Linked DNA regions of Homo sapiens: all the other regions are linked to region 3. The links are contacts of gene promoters, found by promoter capture Hi-C in human tissues and cell types (Jung and others, 2019). All regions are on one chromosome and are shown on one strand. The core of a region is centred on a gene start or on the middle of the fragment in contact, and the rest is flanking DNA. Distances in the headings are between cores, read along the strand shown. Region 1 overlaps JOSD1 (Josephin domain containing 1). Region 2 holds the start of FAM227A (family with sequence similarity 227 member A). Region 3 holds the start of TMEM184B (transmembrane protein 184B). Region 4 overlaps DMC1 (DNA meiotic recombinase 1). Region 5 overlaps FAM227A (family with sequence similarity 227 member A).

Evidence for each region. The method cuts DNA at HindIII sites, captures the fragments that hold promoters and counts their contacts. A contact is called where the count stands out against the background at its distance.
Region 1: a contact is called between a fragment that was not itself captured here and the fragment with the promoter of TMEM184B in region 3, in 1 of the 25 tissues and cell types used here (aorta).
Region 2: a contact is called between the fragment with the promoter of FAM227A here and the fragment with the promoter of TMEM184B in region 3, in 1 of the 25 tissues and cell types used here (mesenchymal stem cells).
Region 4: a fragment that was not itself captured here is called in contact with the fragment with the promoter of TMEM184B in region 3 in 4 of the 25 tissues and cell types used here (H1 embryonic stem cells, lymphoblastoid cells, psoas muscle and 1 more).
Region 5: a contact is called between a fragment that was not itself captured here and the fragment with the promoter of TMEM184B in region 3, in 1 of the 25 tissues and cell types used here (spleen).

Annotation. Positions count from the first base shown.
Region 1 is chr22:38,687,356-38,690,981 of GRCh38, reverse strand. It overlaps JOSD1 (Josephin domain containing 1), which reads left to right. Exons shown (of 5, transcript NM_001360236.2): 3 at 1,558-1,686; 4 at 1,853-2,047; 5 at 2,981-3,626. The coding sequence ends at 3,080. Among named protein-coding and RNA genes, the nearest start is that of TOMM22, 7.2 kb to the right of the region's middle. The HindIII fragment of the contact is 8,429 bases long and covers 1-3,626 here.
Region 2 is chr22:38,654,580-38,658,258 of GRCh38, reverse strand. It overlaps FAM227A (family with sequence similarity 227 member A), which reads left to right and starts at 1,867. Exons shown (of 17, transcript NM_001013647.2): 1 at 1,867-2,139. CBY1 (chibby 1, beta catenin antagonist) reads right to left here and starts at 1,621. Exons shown (of 5, transcript NM_015373.4): 1 at 1,509-1,621. The HindIII fragment of the contact is 5,432 bases long and covers 934-3,679 here.
Region 3 is chr22:38,270,965-38,274,989 of GRCh38, reverse strand. It overlaps TMEM184B (transmembrane protein 184B), which reads left to right and starts at 1,980. Exons shown (of 9, transcript NM_012264.5): 1 at 1,980-2,106. RefSeq lists a silencer at 1,828-2,457 and an enhancer at 2,520-3,229. The HindIII fragment of the contact is 18,337 bases long and covers 1-4,025 here.
Region 4 is chr22:38,556,850-38,560,762 of GRCh38, reverse strand. All of the region lies in intron 5 of DMC1 (DNA meiotic recombinase 1), which reads left to right. Among named protein-coding and RNA genes, the nearest start is that of DMC1, 11 kb to the left of the region's middle. The HindIII fragment of the contact is 5,518 bases long and covers 1-3,913 here.
Region 5 is chr22:38,599,729-38,603,283 of GRCh38, reverse strand. It overlaps FAM227A (family with sequence similarity 227 member A), which reads left to right. Exons shown (of 17, transcript NM_001013647.2): 14 at 3,363-3,520. Among named protein-coding and RNA genes, the nearest start is that of DMC1, 31 kb to the right of the region's middle. The HindIII fragment of the contact is 9,989 bases long and covers 1-3,555 here.

The DNA.
Region 1 (3,626 bases), core at 613-3,112, 420 kb before region 3:
GCCTCCTATGTTCGGCTCACTGCAGCCTCTGCCTCCTACGTTCAAGCAGTTAGCTGCCTCAGTCTCCTGAGTAGTTGAGACTACAGGCGTGCACCACCACGCCTGGCTAATTTTTGTATTTTTAGTAGAGACGGGGTTTCACCATGTTACCCAGGCTGGTCTTGAACTCCTGACCTCAAGTGATCTGCCCACCTCAGCCTCCCAGAGTGCCGGAATTACAAGCATGAGCCACCGCGCCTGGCCAGGAGTATGTTTTATATTTGAAAAATACCAGTATTGCTGAGTTCAGTGGCTCACACCTGTAATCCCAGCACTTTGGGAGGCTGAGGCGGGTGGATCACAAGGTTAGGAGTTCGAGACCAACCAGCCTGGCCAACGTAGTGAAACCCCATCTCAACTAAAAATACAAAAATTAGGTGGGCGTGGTGGCGGGTGCCTGTAATCCCAGCTACTTGGGAGGCTAAGGCAAGAGAATCACTTGAACGCAGGAGACGGAGGTTGCAGTGGGCTGAGATCGCGCCATCACACTCCAGCCTGGGCGACAGAGCAAGACTCCGACTCAAAAAAAAAAGAAAGAAAAAAAATACCAGTATTTCTGCTGTGCACAGAAAAATTTTAAAAATACAAGATTTCTTAAGTTTTTTAGAGTTGACATCCTTGGCCTAACGTCTTGATTCTTTTCTGGAGATGGCATGTAGTAGCCTCTTGATCATGCACTTTATGTCCTGAGGAACTCGCCACACTTCCCTTTCTCCCCTTCACACGAAGCCCAAAGGTATGCCCCTTGAACCCTTCCTTCAAAATGGCCTTTCCCCAGCTCCTGGCCTGACAAGTTTATGAAGGTAAAATAATAGAATTAGAAATGCCTTCAGCATGGACCTTGTCTTAAAATACAGACTGGCTAAAGAAACCTGGAAGTAAATGGCTTCAAGCTGGGTGGGCAAACCAGTGCTGCAGCTGAGTTTTGTTTGCCTGGCACAAATTTTTTTTCAGTTGATTTATTGGGTATTTTAAGAAAAATTTATTCAAGTACTACACACACACACACACACACACACACACACACACAGAATGCCTTTAGGTGGGTCGTGCATTCCAGTAGGCCTCACTACTTTTTATTGCCTTATATCCAACCCCAGTTTATACATTTATGTCACCTGTCTAGGCTCCTGTATGCCTTTGAGTATTTAATGATTAATGATTACCAAGTTTGCAGGCCTTAACTAGAAAGCAGGAGTGACACCAGTTACTATCCATGCAAATGAAAAGATTGAATCCTATTTTCCAATGTTAAAAAAAAAAAAGGCTTGCATGAGGCAGGAAAATCAGTATCAGGAGGAAGAGCAGAAAGGCTGCAGGAGGCTGGGATTTCATAAGTGAGTCACCTTCATGGAACACTTACAAAATACTTAGGTAGAAGCTGGGGAAATTGCACTTGAATGTGGGGAAACTAACTTCCAGGGGCAGTGATGTAAAGTGCTCTCCATCCCTGGTAGTGCGGGGTCAGGGGGTTCAGGCATCCAGCAAGTCTCAGCCCTCCTCTTTTCACATTGGTAGGTTGTCTCCAAACACCATGGTGACACCTCACAAGAAGAGCATGCTGGGAAATGGCAACTACGATGTGAATGTCATTATGGCAGCACTTCAGACCAAAGGCTATGAAGCTGTTTGGTGGGACAAGCGCAGGTAATCTGAATCAGGCTTGACTTGATGGAGAACAGCACGGTTGTGGTATAAGCTTTTAGTACTTGGGCTCATGGCATGAGTGGGGAGGTAGCCAGTTGTGGTATTACAGCCAGGGAACCTTGGAAAATGGGCTGCATCAGAGCCTGCCACCATTTCTCCCCTGCAGGGATGTCGGTGTCATTGCCCTCACTAACGTCATGGGCTTCATCATGAATCTGCCCTCCAGCCTATGCTGGGGTCCACTGAAACTGCCCCTCAAAAGGCAGCACTGGATCTGTGTTCGAGAGGTGGGAGGGGCCTACTACAACCTCGACTCCAAACTCAAGATGCCCGAGTGGATTGGAGGCGAGAGCGAGCTCAGGTAATCGGCACCTTTTGTGACTAAGTTGCTAGGCTGCTTCATTTCTTAGGTTGGGGACACTGAGCTCATCTCTGGTTATTTGACAAAGGAAATGAAATTCCTGTGCCCTTGGATTCTCTCCCTGCCTTAGAATCATAGTGTCTCGGACCTGACCTTAATCTTCAATGGCGCATCAGTACTTTTAAGTCCTTTTGGTAGGGAAGATGCCCAGCCTGGGATACCAGCCTTCTAGTCTGGTGGGGCTGGCATTGTAACGTTCTCTCTATTTAAGACAACTGAGACAGTGTAGTTGCCAGTTCATAGAAAGGAAGACAAACATGCAGGCCAGGGAGCACTGAATTTCCCCAGGACCAAAGAACATTTGTAAAAGTTCTTTAGAGGCGATTGCTCACGCCTGTAATCTCAGCACTTTGGGAGGCCAAGGCGGGTGGATCACCTGAGGTCAGGAGTTCGAGACCAGCCTGACCAACACGGTGAAACTCTGTCTCTACTAAAAATACAAAAATTAGCCAGGCGTGGTGGCGGACGCCTGTAATCCCAGCTGGTCAGGAGGCTGAGGCAGGAGAATCACTTGAACCTGGGAGGCAGAGGTTGCAGTGAGCCGAGATCATGCCATTGCACTCCAGCCCAGGCGACAAGAGCGAAACTCCGTCTCCAAACAAACCAAGAAAAAGTCCTTTATATACTTTGGGTACTGTTATTCACAGATCCAGCTACTCTTGGCAGTAACTACAAGGATGAGCAAAATTCAGGTTGGAATTTTAACTGGACAGATTGGAGGGTAACCAAATGTGGAACCCTCCAAAACCAGATGACTACAGGGATGTGTTTTGGACTGCCGAGGGTAGAGTGAGGTTTCAGGTGACTTTGTGGTCCTGAGACTGGAATTTGCAACTTGCCAGCATTTCATTTTCTCTATCTCTTTTTCCATAGGAAGTTTCTAAAACATCATTTGCGAGGAAAGAACTGTGAACTCCTGCTGGTGGTACCAGAAGAGGTAGAGGCTCATCAGAGTTGGAGGACCGATGTGTAACAGTTCTGCCCAACCTCCCTCTCGCCTCAGCCCCTTCAGTCCTCTGTGACGTGCTGTGGCCTCTACAGTGGGTCTGCCCTTGCCACTTCCCCAAACATCTCATCAAGTTTTTCCCCTTCAGATCTGACAGTGCAATAGGACAGACGTGTGGACTGTTATAAGAACTACTCAGTGTTTTGTTCCTGGGCAAGGAAGGTAGGAGTTCTGTGCACTTAAGGCCAGTGGTCACAAACCCTTGTTTTATTTAAGAGACAGAGGAGAAAGTGGAGCGGGGAGGGAATCCTAGCTTATTTTCCCTTTTCTATGAGGACTTGACACAGGTTCTGCTGAGTTGTCACTGCTGCTCCAGACTCACCTAGAGATGCTGCCTCCACTTTCCATCCTGTCTGGGTCTGAAAACAGTGGGTCTGCAGATAGTGCCCACAAACCCCATGTGACTGGTTTGAAGGACCCAGAGCATAAAGGTCTCTCAGGAAACCATGTCCAAAACCCTAGCAGCGGTACAGCATGCTGTCTCCAACCCTTATCCCCAGGTTTAAGGGTGGT
Region 2 (3,679 bases), core at 618-3,117, 380 kb before region 3:
AGATACTCAGGAGGCTGAGGCAGGATAATTGCTTGAACCCAGGAGGCAGAGGTTGCAGTGAGCTGAAATTGCACCACTGCTTTCTAGCCTGGGTGACAGAACAAGACCCCATCTCAAAGAAAAAAAAAATAGAAAAGAAAGAAAGAGATCTGGAAGGATACACCAAACTGTTCATAGTGGTTAAACCTGAAAAAGGGAATAGGATGACTGACTTGAATGAACTTGTCATTTTATAGGTTAAAAAAAGGTCAAATTGTGACAATTTCATATGGTACAATATAAAATTATATTAAATATACTCGAGATTTAATGAATTATTACAATGAGAATATATTCATGTATTACTTATGAACAAAATAAACAAAACACAGTTAAGAAGCAGCCCCCAGCATGCCTAAAATCTAGAGACATTTGAAGAAGGAGAAATAAGTCAAGTCCCCACTGATGCTAACTGCACTGGGCCTGAGCACATGGGCTGGACACAACAAGTTTAGGGGCCTGGCTCTCCCCTTCAGTTGCCTGCTAGACCTTGGCCCAGCTGCTTTACTTCTCGGGCTTTAACTGGGCACCTTACTCATGACCGCACTAATTCTCATAACACTACAGCTGGGAGCTGTCATCCATGTATTACAGATGAGGAAGGGTCTGGATTAGCTACCTTTTAAGTCAGATCTAATAATCCACAAACAGCTCAGCTGAGATCCTGGGATTCTGGGGCATCCGCGTGCACTTGAGATACAAGCTGTCCCACTGGCCCATGGCAACCTTCTTTCTAGTGAAACTCCCAGGGCGAGCGTGCTCCGCACACAGGAAGTGAAGGGGGAGCACCTGGCTTCCAATGATCACTCTGCGGCTCACCCACAGTGGGACCCCAGCATTTATCCCCCTTGGACTTCGGCTTCTTTCTTTGCACTGAGGAATAATAATAGTACCTGGCTCACAAGATGTTATAGTGTTTTAGTGTTTATAGGAAGCTGTGCACTTGATCCTCACAACGACCCTGGGAAGAGGATCGAGTAAGTAGAGCCTTCCCAGTCCACAGATACTGATACTAATCACTAATCATTGTGTAAAGGTTTTCCGTTTGCAACAGGCCATAAAATATATTATCTTACTTTAATTCTAAGAAAACAAGGGCGGAATCTCTGGTTTTCATCGGATTCTCAAAGATATACGTGTCCCCCAAGGAGTTCAGAGGTAGCCATGTTACGCAGATGCACGGCCCCCAGGGCTGTCGGACTCAAGTAACAGCTGTCAACAAACGTTCACACGCACGATCTCATGCAATCATCTTCACGGCGACCTACGGGGAGGAATTACCGCCCCAATTCACAACCGCGGAGACACACAGAGGAGGGCGGCCACCGCCCGGGGTCGCCCGGCCTCCGTCCCCTTCCCCAGGCCCTCCTGAAGCCTCTCTCCAGGCGAGGCCCGGACGTCCTACTCAGCTCGGGCCCCCGAGTGAACCCAGGCAGCGCTGGCCGGCGACGCCGGACTCGGAGACGTACCTGACGCGTCCCAGAAGCCGGGGTCCAAGCGCTCCCCGAACCCCCAGCAAGGACTCTGTAGCCCAGAGTTACCTTGACCCACCCGCCTCCTGCCGCCTGCCCGCCACGCGCATGCGCTGCCCCGCCCGGCCTCTACCACCGAGGAAAGGGGTAACCGGCGCGGGGGTTCCCAGCGCCAGCCTGCGCCAATCCCCAGAAACTCCGTGAATCACCTCGGGATAGCAAACGGATTATACAAAGGCAGTGTCTTCTGGGGTCCTTTTCATGCCTCTAGGACCAGGACCTGCATTCACCCTCTCCACTGACACATTGGTCTGGGCCCCCGGCCCGGCTGTCACCATAGAAACGGCATCTCGCGGACAACGCGGCGGCTCACGAAGGTTCCATTGTTATGCTAAACGGGAAAGTGGAGACCGCGCCGGCGTTGCCTAGAGAACGCCTGGACTCAGAGTAGCAAAATGGGCCTCTCCCCAACTCCCCTCCTCATCCCCCAGCACAAGGCAAAGGGCACCCCTTGCTGTGAGTTTGGGGGCACCGGCTGTCGGGGGCCGACCCAGAACTTTGCGGGGTCCCCTGAGGGACCCGTGGCGGGACCGGCCCCGGGTTCGTCAAATTCCGCCGATGCTTTCAGGTAAGACGGACGGACAGACGCACCATGACCCACCTCTGGCAGCCTGCCCCCTCCCCGTGCCGTTATGGCGGCTTCTACAAGCAAGGGAAGCTGAGGCCCAGGGACTACTTAAAGGTTGCATTGTGAGGAAGGGACAGAGAACTACTGGAGAATCAACTCCAGATCTCCTAGAGTCCTAAAAGCGTGTGTTATTGGTTCCGTCTGATAAGTGCAGAAACTTAGGCCGTTCAAGGAGTTTACCGGCTGCCTAGTGGGTGTATCAGGGCATCCAGTGAGGGGCAGGACCCAGGGGTCTTTGACTCCAAGCGCAGTTCTCTTCCAACTACACCACCCTGCATTAAAAGAGGGGAGACTTCCATGTCCTAGAACTAAAATCTTCACAATCTGGCTTAGCATTGTGCAATAGAAACATAAAGCAGGCCACATATGTGATTTGGAATTTTCTAGTAGCCACATTTTTTAAAAAGTAAAAAAGAAAGCCAAGTGAAATTAATTTGAGTAATGTTTTAAACTCCATATGTCCAAAACATTACTATTTCAAGATATAATCAGTATTTCTAAATTTGCACTGCTTCCATTTAAAAATTTAATTTTTTTTTTTTTTAAGACAGAGTCTCACTCTGTTGCCCAGGCTGGGATTGCAGTGGCATGATCTCGGCCTCCCGGGTTCAAGCGATTCTGCTGTGTTCACCTCCCAAGTAGCTGGAATTACAGGCACCCACCACCATGCCCGGCTAATTTTTTGTATTTTTAGTAGAGATGGCGTTTCACCATGTTGGCCAGGCTGGTCTCGAACTCCTGACCTCAGGTGATCTGCTTGACTCGGCCTCCCAAAGTGCTGGTATTACAGGTGCGGGCCACTGCGCCTGGCCAAAATTTGAATTAATTAAAATTAAAATTTTACTCTTGGCTGTTCTATCTATGGAGTAGCCATTCTTTTATTGCTTTACTTTAAAAAAATTTTACTTTTTTTTTTTTTCGAGACAGAGTCTCGCTCTGTCGCCCAGGCTGGAGTGCAGTGGCATGATCTTGGCTCACTGCAACCTCCGACTCCTGGGTTCACGCCATTCTCCTGCCTCCGCCTCCCAAGTAGCTGGGACTACAGGCGCCCGCCACCATGCCAGGCTAATTTTTTTTTTGGTATTTATTTATTTATTTATTTATTTATTTTAGATGGAGTCTCGCACTGTCGCCTAGGCTGGAGTGTGCAGTGGTACAATCTCAGCTCACTGCAAGCTCCGCCTCCTGGGTTCATGCCATTGTCCTGCCTCAGCCTCTCGAATAGCTGGGATTACAGGCGCCCGCCACCAAGCCCAGCTAATTTTTTTTTTTTTTTTTTTTTTTGGTATTTTTAGTAGAGATGGGGTTTCACCATGTTAGCCAGGGTGGTCTCGATCTCCTGACCTCATGATCCGCCTGCCTCGGCCTCCCAAAGTGCTGGGATTACAGGCGTGAGCCACCGCGCCCAGCCTTTTGTTTATTTTTTTGAGACAGGGTCTCATTCTGTCACCCAGGCTGGAGTGCAGTGACATCATCCCCA
Region 3 (4,025 bases), core at 731-3,230:
TGGAGGACATTCGAGCAAACCCTTGAAGAAGGTGATGGAGGAGCCATTCAGGTATCTGGGGAAACAGCGATCGCAGCAGAGGGAACAGCTAGTGCAGGGGGCTCGGGGCTGAGTGTGCTCAGCTTGTTCTAGGAACAGCAAGGGATCAGTGTGGAGGGAAAGGGTAAGAGATGAATGAGATCAGGAATCCCCAGGAGAGTAGAATGTCAGATCAAGTGTTTGTAAGGACTTGTAAGGCTTTTACTTAGAGCGAAACAGTGAGCCAATGGAGGGTTTTGAGCAAAAAAGTACCATGTTTTGACTTCGATTTTATTTTATTTTTTGAGACAGATTCTCATTTTGTCACCCAGGTTGGTGTGCATTGGCACGATCTTGGCTCACCACAACCCAACCTCCGCCTCCCGGGTTCAAGCAATTCTCATGCCTCCAGAGTAGCTGGGACTACAGGCATGTACCACCACACCCAGCTAATTTTTGTATTTTTAGCAGAGACAAGGTTTCACCATATTGGCCAGGCTGGTCTGTAACTCCTGGCCTTAAATGAGCCACCCGACCTCACAAAGTGCTGGGATTACAGGCGTGAGCCACCGTGCCCGGCAGATTTTAAAAGAATCTTGGCTGGGCGTGGTGGCTCACGCCTGTAATCCCAGCACTTTGGGAGGCCGAGGCAGGCGGATCACAAGGTCAGGAGATCAAGACCATCCTGGCTAACGCGGTGAAACCCCGTCTCTACTAAAAATACAAAAAATTAGCTGGGCATGGTGGCGGGCGCCTGTAGTCCCAGCTACTCGGGAGGCTGAGGCAGGAGAATGGCGTGAACCCGGGAGGCGGAGCTTGCAGTGAGCCGAGATCGCGCCACTGCACTCCAGCCTGGGCAACTTTGAGACAAAGAGCGAGACTTTGTCTCAAAAAGAAAAAAGAGAAAAAAAAAAAAGGATCTCCCTCACCCCTGAATTGATAGAATGGATCAGAGGGCAAGGCTGGAACAAGGGAGAGGGGTTAGCAGAACTCTGCAATAATCCTGTGCAAATACTGGACCAGGGTGGTAGCACTGGAGGAGGAGTGGCAGACATCTGAGTCTAGATCTATTTTGCAGGTAGAGCCAACAGGATCTCCTGCCTGCCTTATTGGGTAGCGGGCAGAAGGGGGGCATTCATTCACAGCTGACTCCGAGTTCTGGCCTGGGGACTGGAAGGATGGAATTGTCAACAGCTGATGGAGGCAAAGCTGAGAGGGAGCAGGTTTTTGTGTGTGGAAGTGGGGTTGGCTCAGCTCAGACACGCTGACTTTGAGATGCCTGCTGGAGCTCCAAGGAAGAGGTGTTGGGTAGACAGTTCAGGCGAGGAGTCTGGAGACATAAATACATTTGGGGATCTTGAGCACATCAATGCCAGAACTTAATTGCATTTTATCTTGTTCAGTTAACCTAGGTGATGTCTGGACCGGCAAACAGAAATGGACTAGGCGGCTTGAACCCTATCTGAAGACTTTTGCTAGTTCGGCAGCCTAGAGCCAGACGGGGCAAGAAAGAATCGCTGCTAAGCGGAGTGGGAAAAAAAGGCCTCTTTCAGTGCTTTGCCATTTCATCTGGCCTAATTGCACACAACACTCGGTCCACGTTCATTCCACAATTCCACACGCATCCTTCACTCAACAAATAGCCATTGTATTTCGTTTCATCTTCAAAACAGGCTCAAATGGAGGAAATTAGGGTTAAAAGAAGTGAAGCACCAGCGAGGGTCAGGGGCAGAGATCGCAGCCCAGAAAGCTCTCGCGGTTGGGGGCCGGTCGTAGCTGGTTTTGTGAGTGGCAAGAGAACCCGGGTCGCGCCCCAACCCGCGGGGCGGCGGGCTGGGGTTCGGGGCGGCGGGCTGGGGTTCGGGGCGCGGCCCCTTTAAGGCCCAGGCAGTGATCTCAGCCGCGTCCGCCGCCCCGCCCTCCCCGGCGGCGAGCCCAGAGCGCATGCGCGCCGCGGCTGCACTCCACTGGGCCCGGGACGCGCCGGCGGCGGCGGAGACTCCGGGGCTGCGGCGCCGCCCGCCCCGCCCGCAGAGTCCGGCTGCCGCGCATCGTCCGCAGACGCCGCCACCGCCATGGGCTCCTGAGGTATCCCGCCTGGCCGGCCTCGCCCGGGAGCCCCAAGGGGGAGCTGCGACTCCCGAGCGCGGGGGGCTGCTTGTTTCGGAGAGGCCCGCGCGAGGGACGCCCGGCTTCGGCCGCCGGCTCCCGGGCGGGGAGGGCACTACGGAGGCCGGTGCGGCCGCGGAGGGAGGGGGCATCCGTCTCCCCACCCGTGCCTCCTCTCCGCCCCGCGAGGTCGCCCGTGGGTGTGCCCGCTCCCTTTCCACGCCAACGTGGCGGGGGCAGCTCCTGGAGTGTAATCGGACCTGTCCGGGGGGCGGCCCCGGGAGAGGGAGGCGGATGGACCAAGGCGCTTTGCAAGAGGGATTGTGTGCTCCCGGGTGGGTGTGCTGGCGACTGGCACGGCCGAGTGAGTGGGGGAGGCGTCCGTGCCCTGTGCGGGTGGCAGTGACCTGGGAGGGTGGTCGGCGGGGGGCTTTCGGGGCTGCGTCGTGAGTGGAGGGTGTACACGCCCGCCACACAGGTCCGCAGGTTTGGAAGGGGATCGACTGGGACCTGGGGCTCGAAAGATGTTTGCCCCCAAAGGGACCGTGGAGACTGGTTTTGGGTGTCTGTATCCTTCCCGTGAATTGTACATTTCCTCCTGGGCACACCCTTGGTACCTCGCTTGGATCCACTTACCTCCAGTGCTGGGTGGCTCCAGGCCAAGGCAAGGCAGTTATGCTGGGGGTTGGGCATGGATTCCCAATACATATCCCCTCTGGAGGTGTTGTATAAGGCCAGACGTTTTACTCCTCCCTCCTTTCCAGGGCATTTTGGGGCAAAGCAGGTATTTGCATGCCTGATACCTGTGGTGAGGTGAAGGCCATGTATTATTTATCTGACTGCTGGTGCTTTTGTAAGGAAAGAAGCAGCAATCTGTGCCCTGGAGGCCCTGCGCTGCAGAGTCAGCCAGGCAAACAAGCTCACCTGCACCTGCAGAGGCAGCGCAGGTCTCAGAGGTGTGACTTCGTTGACAGGTTATGCCTACAGTGTCCCTTTCCATCTACCTATTTAGCTTCCTTGGTAGAACCCCTAGGCTCTGCACCTCTGAACCTTGCCTAGGGTGCTGTGCGTATCAGAGTTGGGACCTGGGACGCTGGGGTGGGAGAGCCCCAGCAGCCAGGTATGTGTGCCCACCTGGACAGAAACATTTGATGCCCAAGCCATCAAGGAGCTCTCAAGCATGGGGGAATCAGATTTGGAAACAGGTGATCACGATGATGTGAAAAATACCAAACAAAGGAGTAGAAGGAGTACAGAGGCAGGTTCAGTTCCCGGGGAGGGGGATCGTGGCCGCAGGAAAGACTCCCTCATAAGGAGACGGTTGAGCTGAAGCCTGAAGGATGACTGACGTTCATCTGAGGCTTTTCTGCTTTCCACATATATTTTCCTGTGTAATTTGCACAGCAGCTGTGTGAGTAAGGAACAGTTGTCCCTATTTGCAGATGCGGTAAACTGAGGCCCAGAGGGAATTCATGACGTTCTTCTCCACGATACGTGGCAAGCCTGGATGGAATCATCCTTTAACCAGGACCTCTCTCTTGCTGCCAGATCTTGTCTTGCAACTTACTGAGCATCTACTATGTGCCAGGCACTATGCTGGGGCATAGCGGTCTGATGATCAATGGGACCTGGTGCCTGCCTTCTAGGGGCTCCCAGTGCTGGGAAGATGGACACTGATTTAGTGACCCCAATCTGGATACGAGGCTCCAATAGCTAATGTGGGTGGAGAAGGCGCTGTGAATTCCCCCAAAGCATTTGTGCAGTCGTTGGGATTCTGGATGTCTTATTTGTTGCACCCACGGTGGTGGTGGGTTATTCAAAGAGCCCCTTCTGAATTTCTCCAACCAAGTAGAAAGAAGAGCTTCGAGGCAGAAGGGTGAATGAGCCACTTGTCCTAG
Region 4 (3,913 bases), core at 505-3,004, 290 kb before region 3:
TATTTTTTTTCTACATTTGTTTATGCTTGATATTTTCTATAATAAAAGATTAATATATAATATATGTTATTTTTATGTGTATATGTGTGTGTGTACATAGAGAGTGAGAATATAATTCAACTATTTCTTACCACCTCTACTGTTACCTCACTGGACTAAACTACCACCTATTAATATCTCCCCTGGATTATTATAATAACCTCTAATTAACCTCCCTCCTTGAGACCTTGCCCCTACTGTTTTGTTTTTTTTTTTAATTCACTAAAGAGCCAGAATGGTCACTTTAAAACATAGGTTAGGCTGGAATGCAGTGGCTCATAACACCCTGATGATTCCCCCTCTCACTCAGAAAAGAAGCCAAAGTCCTCTCCCATCTCTAATATTTCACTTTTCTAGTTTTCTATGTACCAGCCATAGTGACCTCTTTGCTATTCCCAGAATATGTCAGATACACTCCTGCATCAGGGCCTTTGCACTTTGTGCTGCCTCTGCCTATCATATTCTTTCCTCTTAGATCTACATGGCTTGCTGTCATCTCTTTCAGGTCTTGGCAAAAATGTCCATGTCTCAATGAGAACTTCTCTGATCACTTTATTTGACAGTATAACCTCCTAACTTTCATACTCTGTCTTCCTTGTCCCCTTTCCTGGCCTTATTTTTATCCATACCATTTAATAACATCTGATGTACTACATATTTTACTTATTTGTGTTTATTTTTTATTTTATTTATTTATTTTTTTTTTCAGACGGAGTCTTGCTCTGTCACCCAGGCTGGAGTGCAGTGGCATGATCTCAGCTCACTGCAACCTCTGCTGCCCAGGTTCAAGCGATTCACCTGCCTCAGCCTCCCGAGTAGCTGGGATTACAGGTGCCCGCCACCACGCCCGGCTAATTTTTGTACTTTTAGTAGAGACAGGGTTTCAGCATCTTGGCCAGGCTGGTCTTGAACTCCTGATCCCATGATCCACCGCTTCAGCCTCCCAAAGTGCTGGGATTACAGGTGTGAGCTACCGGCGCCTGGCCTATTTGTGTTTATTATCTAATCTCTCACTAGATTGTAAACTTCGTGAGAGAAAAAAATTCTGTCTCTTTTGTTCTCTAGTTTATCCCAAGTGCACAAAACAATCCCTGGCATAAACTAGGTGTGCAATAAATATTTGTTGAATGACTAAATGAATGAATAAACAAATAGTGAATAAGTTTGAGAAGTACCATATACTATATATTCTTCTTGAAGAGTCACAGCGCACACTAGCCTGTGAAATCCTGCAGTGACACAAAACACCTGTTTTGGCAGGGCACGGTGGCCCACACCTGTAATCACAGCACTTCGGGAGGCCAAGATGGGTGGATCACCTTAGGTCAGGAGTTCTAGACCAGCCTGGCCAACATGGTGAAACCCTGTCTCTACTAAAAATTACCAAAAAAATGGCTGGGCACGGTGGCTCACACCTTTAATCCCAGCGTTTTGGGAGGCCGAGGCGGGTGGATCACTTGAGATCAGGAGTTCGAGACCAGCCTAACCAACATGGAGAAACCCCGTCTCTACTAAAAATACAAAAAATTAGCCGGGCATGGTGGCATGTGCCTGTGGTCACAGCTACTCGGGAGGCTGAGGCAGGAGAATCGCTTGAACCTGGGAGATGGAGGTTGTGGTGAGCCGAGATCGTGCCACTGCACTCCAGCCTGGGCAATAGAGTGAGACTCAGTCTCAAAAGAAAAAAAGAAAAAGAAAATACCTGTTTAACCCAGCATTGTCCCAGACTTTTAAAATCACATACCCTTTTTTCAAGTAAAGTTAAGGAAGAGGCTTGGAGAAATCCTACCCCTAGGCAAATTGGTCAAAATGAGGTTGATCAACAAAACACTTGATTCAAATGACAATCTGATTTTCTTTAGTTACTCTACCACATGGTGGTCTAAGAACCACTGGGCTAAAGAAATAATTACTGTTATTGTGAGTTTTCTGGTGCCCTTGATGTTTGCTCTTGAGAACAGAAAAGATCATTCAGGAGCTAGGTTTTTTTTTGTTGTTTGTTTGCTTTTGAGACAGAGTCTTGCTGTGTCGCCCAGGCTGGAGTGCAGTGGCATGATCTCGGCTCACTGCAACCTCCGCCTCCTGGGTTCAAGCAATTCTCCTGCCTCAGCCTCCTGAGTAGCTGGGACTACAGGTGTGTGCCACCACACCGGGCTAATTTTTGTATTTTTAGTAGAGACAGAGTTTCACCATGTTGGCCAGGCTGGCCTCGAACTCCTGACCTCAGATGATCCACTTGCCTCGGCCTCCCAAAGTACTGGGATTACAGATGTGAGCCACTGCGCCCAGCCAGGAGCTAGGTTTTTAAAAATTAATATTTAATTAATTAAAATATTATACATTTTTCCTTAAGCTTTAAGTCCCTTTATAAATCTAGCACATTTTAAGGGTGCTTTTATAACAAGATTAAATTCTCTTAAACATTTTAATTATGTTTATACATTTAGTGTATTGTATTTTCTTTAAGAACTTTATTTGTTGGCCAGGTGCACTGGCTCACACCTGTAATCCCAACACTTTGGGAGGCTGAGGCGGGTGGATCACAAGGTCTCTACTAAAGACAGGATCACCCTGTCTCTACTAAAAATACAAAAATTAGCCGGGCATGGTGGCGGGTGCCTGTAATCCCAGCTACTCAGGAGGCTGATGCAGAGAATTGCTTGAATCCAGGAGGCAGAGGTTGCAGTGAGCCAAGATCACGCCACTGCATTCCAGCCTGGGCGACAGAGTGAGACTCCGTCTCAAAAAAAAAAAAAAAAAAAAAAAAGAACTTTGTCTAATTATCTAATTATTAACAGCAAAATCTTCCCAATTACCTAAATATCTTTTGTAACTCAAATAAATTTAGAAGTATAGTGAGTTGTAGGCACCATTAAATGTTCAAATACTATTTATAAAATTAGTTATCAACTTGAAAATTGAAGGAATGTACCATTTAATCAGTCAGAGGCCAATCCATTACAAAAAGGTCAAATTATCTTAAACGTTAAAAGGTCTCAAATAGCAAATATGCACAGGTTATTACCAAATTTATTTATTTATATTCTATTTTATTTTTTGAGACACGGTCTCACTCTGTCACCCAGGCTAAAATGCAGTGGCTCCATCACGGCTCACTGCAGCCTGAGTAGATGGGACTGCAGGCACAGGCCAGCATACCTGGCTAATTTTGGTATTTTCTGTAGAGACTGGGTTTCGCCATGTTATCCAGGCTGGTCTTGAACTCCCAGGCTCGAGCGATCCACCTCCCTCGGCCTCCCAAAGTGCTAAGATTACAGACATGAGCCACCATGCCCATATTGCCAAATTTAATATGAAAATAGTAATCTATGGGTTTGATTTGTGTCTCTATTTTTAAATCTCCCTATATTTAAAAACACTATTTCTACACTTAATTCTAAATTTTCCTGAGTCTCAAAAAGGAAACAATTGTGCTATCCCAAATAATTTGGGGTATCCTCACAGGTAAATTTTGGGGTTACCTTTTCAGCTGATTGAGATTACATATCAACCAGGAATTTTGTCTGGGATTTTCCAGAGGTATAGCTTTCCAGGGTAATTTTTCTCAGGAAGAAGAGGGACAAATAAAGCTTTCTTTAATAGTTGCTAGCCCAACCACCATGGCACACGTTTACCTATGTAACAAACCTGCATATCTGGCACATGTACCCCTGAATTTAAAATAAAAGTTGAAGAAAAAAATAGTTGCTGGGCCTATAAGATTTCCAAGTGTATTCCCTCCAAATGGGTTGATCGCTTAGCCCATGTCCTTTAGATTTAAGTTGTGCAGGTACACTATCTAGATTTTTCTTTTCCTTATTGAAGTCTGCAGCCCTCACTAAATTTGTGGATAACTTCCAACATTGTTTCAATT
Region 5 (3,555 bases), core at 411-2,910, 330 kb before region 3:
ACTCCTAACCTCAAATGATCAGCCCACCTTGGCCTCCCAAAGGGATTACAGGCGTGAGCCACTGCTCCCAGCCCACAGTAATGCAAATAATTTTAAAATTAATATTAGTTGGCTGGGTATGGTGGCTCACACCTGTAATCCAAACACTTTGGGAGGTCGAGGTGGGCAGATCACCTAAGGTCAGGAGTTCGAGACCAGCCTTGCCAACATGGCGAAACCCCACCTCTACTAAAAATACAAAAATTATCCAGGCATGGTGGCAGGTGCCTGTAATCCCAGCTACTCGGGAGGCTGAGGCAGGAGAATTGCTTGAACCCAGGAGGCGGAGGTTGCAGTGAGCAGAGATTGCGTCACTGCACTCCAGCCTGGGCGACAGAGTGAGACTCCATCTCAAAAACAACAACAACAACAACAAAAAGCAAAACTTCAAGCCCAAATGCAGTAGAGGCCAGATCTCCCCCTCAAAAACACACCAGAGTCAGGGGCTGTTAGGAAAGGGGAAGGACGCTGGGTTGCCAAAGAATCACCCTCAGAGAAACCTTGCACTGCATTAGTGGATCCCAGATGCTGGACTTTCGTAGGCTTTGAAAAAAAATTTATTTTTTTACTAAGTAAATTCATTAAAACAAAATGACTGCTGTCTGTCGTCAGTAGCATTTTATAAAAGAAAGTCATTAATATCACAAATGAAAAAATTTAAAAAGGTCTTTGAAGTGAATCAATTTACTTAGAGTCGTGTAGATTTTTCCTTGTTTCACTCATTTCCCTGGTGACCACTGGACACAGCATGGCCTCCATTAGGAGACAGCATGTCAGAATCACTGGACCAAATGATCTATAAATTCCCTGCTAACTCCAGGTTTCTGTGATTCCAGTGGTATCTTGCTGTTAGAATAGTGGTTCTCAACTGGGGCAATTTTGTCCTCTGGGAGACATTTGGCCAGCTCTGAAGACATTTCTAGTTGTTAGAACTGGGGGCAGGGGGACATTGGGGGAGGCCAGGGATGCTCCTCAGCATCCTACAGTGCACAGGAGAGCCTCCCACAACAAAGAAATATCCAGCCCCAAATGTCAGTAGTGCTGAAGTTGAGAAACCTTGCTGGAGACAGAAGAAATCCCATTAGACAATTAATTAAATGCAACCCTATCCCATTAGAACAGGATTAGAAAATAGTGTGATTGGGTACTGCTGCAGCCTTTATTTGTGAAGTGGAATTTTTGTTCCATTAAGGTATAACTGCTTCTTCAAAATAAAATGTATTTTTTTTTAAACACAAAAGCAGTATTGTCATTTTTGGAAAAAGGCAGAAGAAAACAAACCATTCTTGGCCCCAGCCTGTTCTCTTTCTGATCTGTTTCCTCCTGGCTGTCTATTAGCATCTCAAATAGCATCCAAAACGGGACTTGACTTTCCCACCGCCCCAGCCTGTTCCTCCCCAGATTGTCCCACCTGAGCAGCTGACACCCAAGTCCTCTGAGCCGCCCTAGACTCTTCTCTTTCTCACACCTACGTAGAGTTGAGTCCATCAGCAAATCTTGCCAGTTCTCCTTTATCATATGTTGTAAATTTGCTCACTTCTCACCCCTTGTCTGCAATCACCAAGTCCTGGGCCCCATCAGCAATTCCCCAACTCCTGCAGGGGCCTCCTGACTGCTCTTCTGCACCCATTCTTACCCTCACAGTCATTTCTCCTCCCATCAGTCAAAGAGACCTTAACAGATTACTCAGATTATATTGTACCCCAGCTCAGAATCTGCCAGTGGCTTCCATGACCCTTAGAAAAATATCCCAGCTCCTCACCATGACCACAGCACCTGCTCCCTCTGCACCCGCCCCCACCCCTGTGAGCCACCTCATTTCTGCCCCTCAGCCACACCAAGCACATATCAGTGGCTGGATCTGTTGCACCTGCTGTCCTCTTAGCCAGGAACAACTCCTGATAGACCTTCCCATGGCTCCCTTCCCCACAGCATTCAGGATCCCTGGGGTCTCACCTCCTCACAGCCTTCCCTGATCACGCCATGGAACCCCAGTCCTCTCCTCCCTACCACTCTCCATACCCTGGCCTGATTGATCTTATTAGTATTCATCATATCATGTTATTCCTTTATTTGTTGATTTTTTTCATTGTTTTCTTCCAACTGTAATGTAAACTCCATAAGGGCTGGAATTTGTCTTGTTCTCTGCTGAATCTCCAGCACCTAAAATAGTATTTATACATAGTAATCACTCAATACATATTTGCTGAATGAATTATTAACGTTTTGGTAAGAGCCTTCCAGTCTCTCATCTATCTGTTTTTTACTAAATAATTTTCTTTTTTTTTTTTTTTGAGACGGAGTCTCACTCTGTCGCCAGGCTGGAGCGCAATGGTGCAATCTCGGCTCACTGCAACCTCCGCCTCCCAGATTCAAGTGATTCTCCTGCCTCAGCCTCCTGAGTAGCTGGGACTACAGGCGCATGCCACCAAGCCCAGCTAATTTTTGTATTTTTAGTAGAGACAGGGTTTTACCATGTTGGCTAGGATGGTCTCAATCTCTTGATCTTGCGATCTGCTTCGGCCTCCCAAAGTGCTGGGATTACAGGTGTGAGCTACCGCACCTGGCTTTTACTAAATTATTTTCTATAAAATATATAACACTATCGGCTGGGCATGATGGCTCATGCCTATAATCCAAGCACTTTGGGAGGCCAAGGCGGGCAGATTACCTGAGGTCAGGAGTTTGAGACCAGCCTGGCCAACGTGGTGAAACCCTGTCTCTACTAAAAATACAAAAATTAGCTGGGCATGGTGGCTGGTGGGCCCCTGTAATCCCAGCTACTCGGGAGGCTGAGATAGGAGAATTGCTTGAATCTAGGAGATGGAGGTTGCAGTGAGCTGAGATTGTGCCACTGCACTCCAGCCTGGGCGATAGATTGAGACCCAAGTCTCAAAAATAAAATAAAATTATATATATATATATATACATACATACACATACACACACACATATAAAAAACACTATCAAACTTTGCATCTCAGTATTTAAAAATTTACTATTATACCTGAAACCTTTTTTAGGTTATCAACTCTTCATAAACATTTTAATAGTGACATACCATTCCTTTGGGTAAAGAGATCAATGTCTTCTTGAACATTTAAGTTATTCTCATATTTTGCTATGTATAGTAAACATCTCTGCAGTGGACATCTTTGCCCCTTGACCTTTTTTTGCTTTATTTTGAGTAATTTTCTTAGGGTGCATCCTAAAACTGGAATTACTGGATCAAAGGACATGAGTGCTTTGATGCCTTTCTGGTTCTTAATACAGACTGTAAAAATGACAATATCCTTTATTTTTCCTTTTTCTTTCATCCTTAGTCGTGTGCTGCCTGCAAAAGCCCTGAGCTGACTTCAAACCTCTTCAACATTTATGGGAAGAGCCCTCTGATTGTGTACTTTCTCCAGAACTATGCCAGTCTGCAGCAGCACGGCAAGAATGTGTTGATAGTCAGAAGGGAAAAGACCACGAGCACCCCATATCCTTGTCACTGTGGGCAGGGTGCGCACTGCT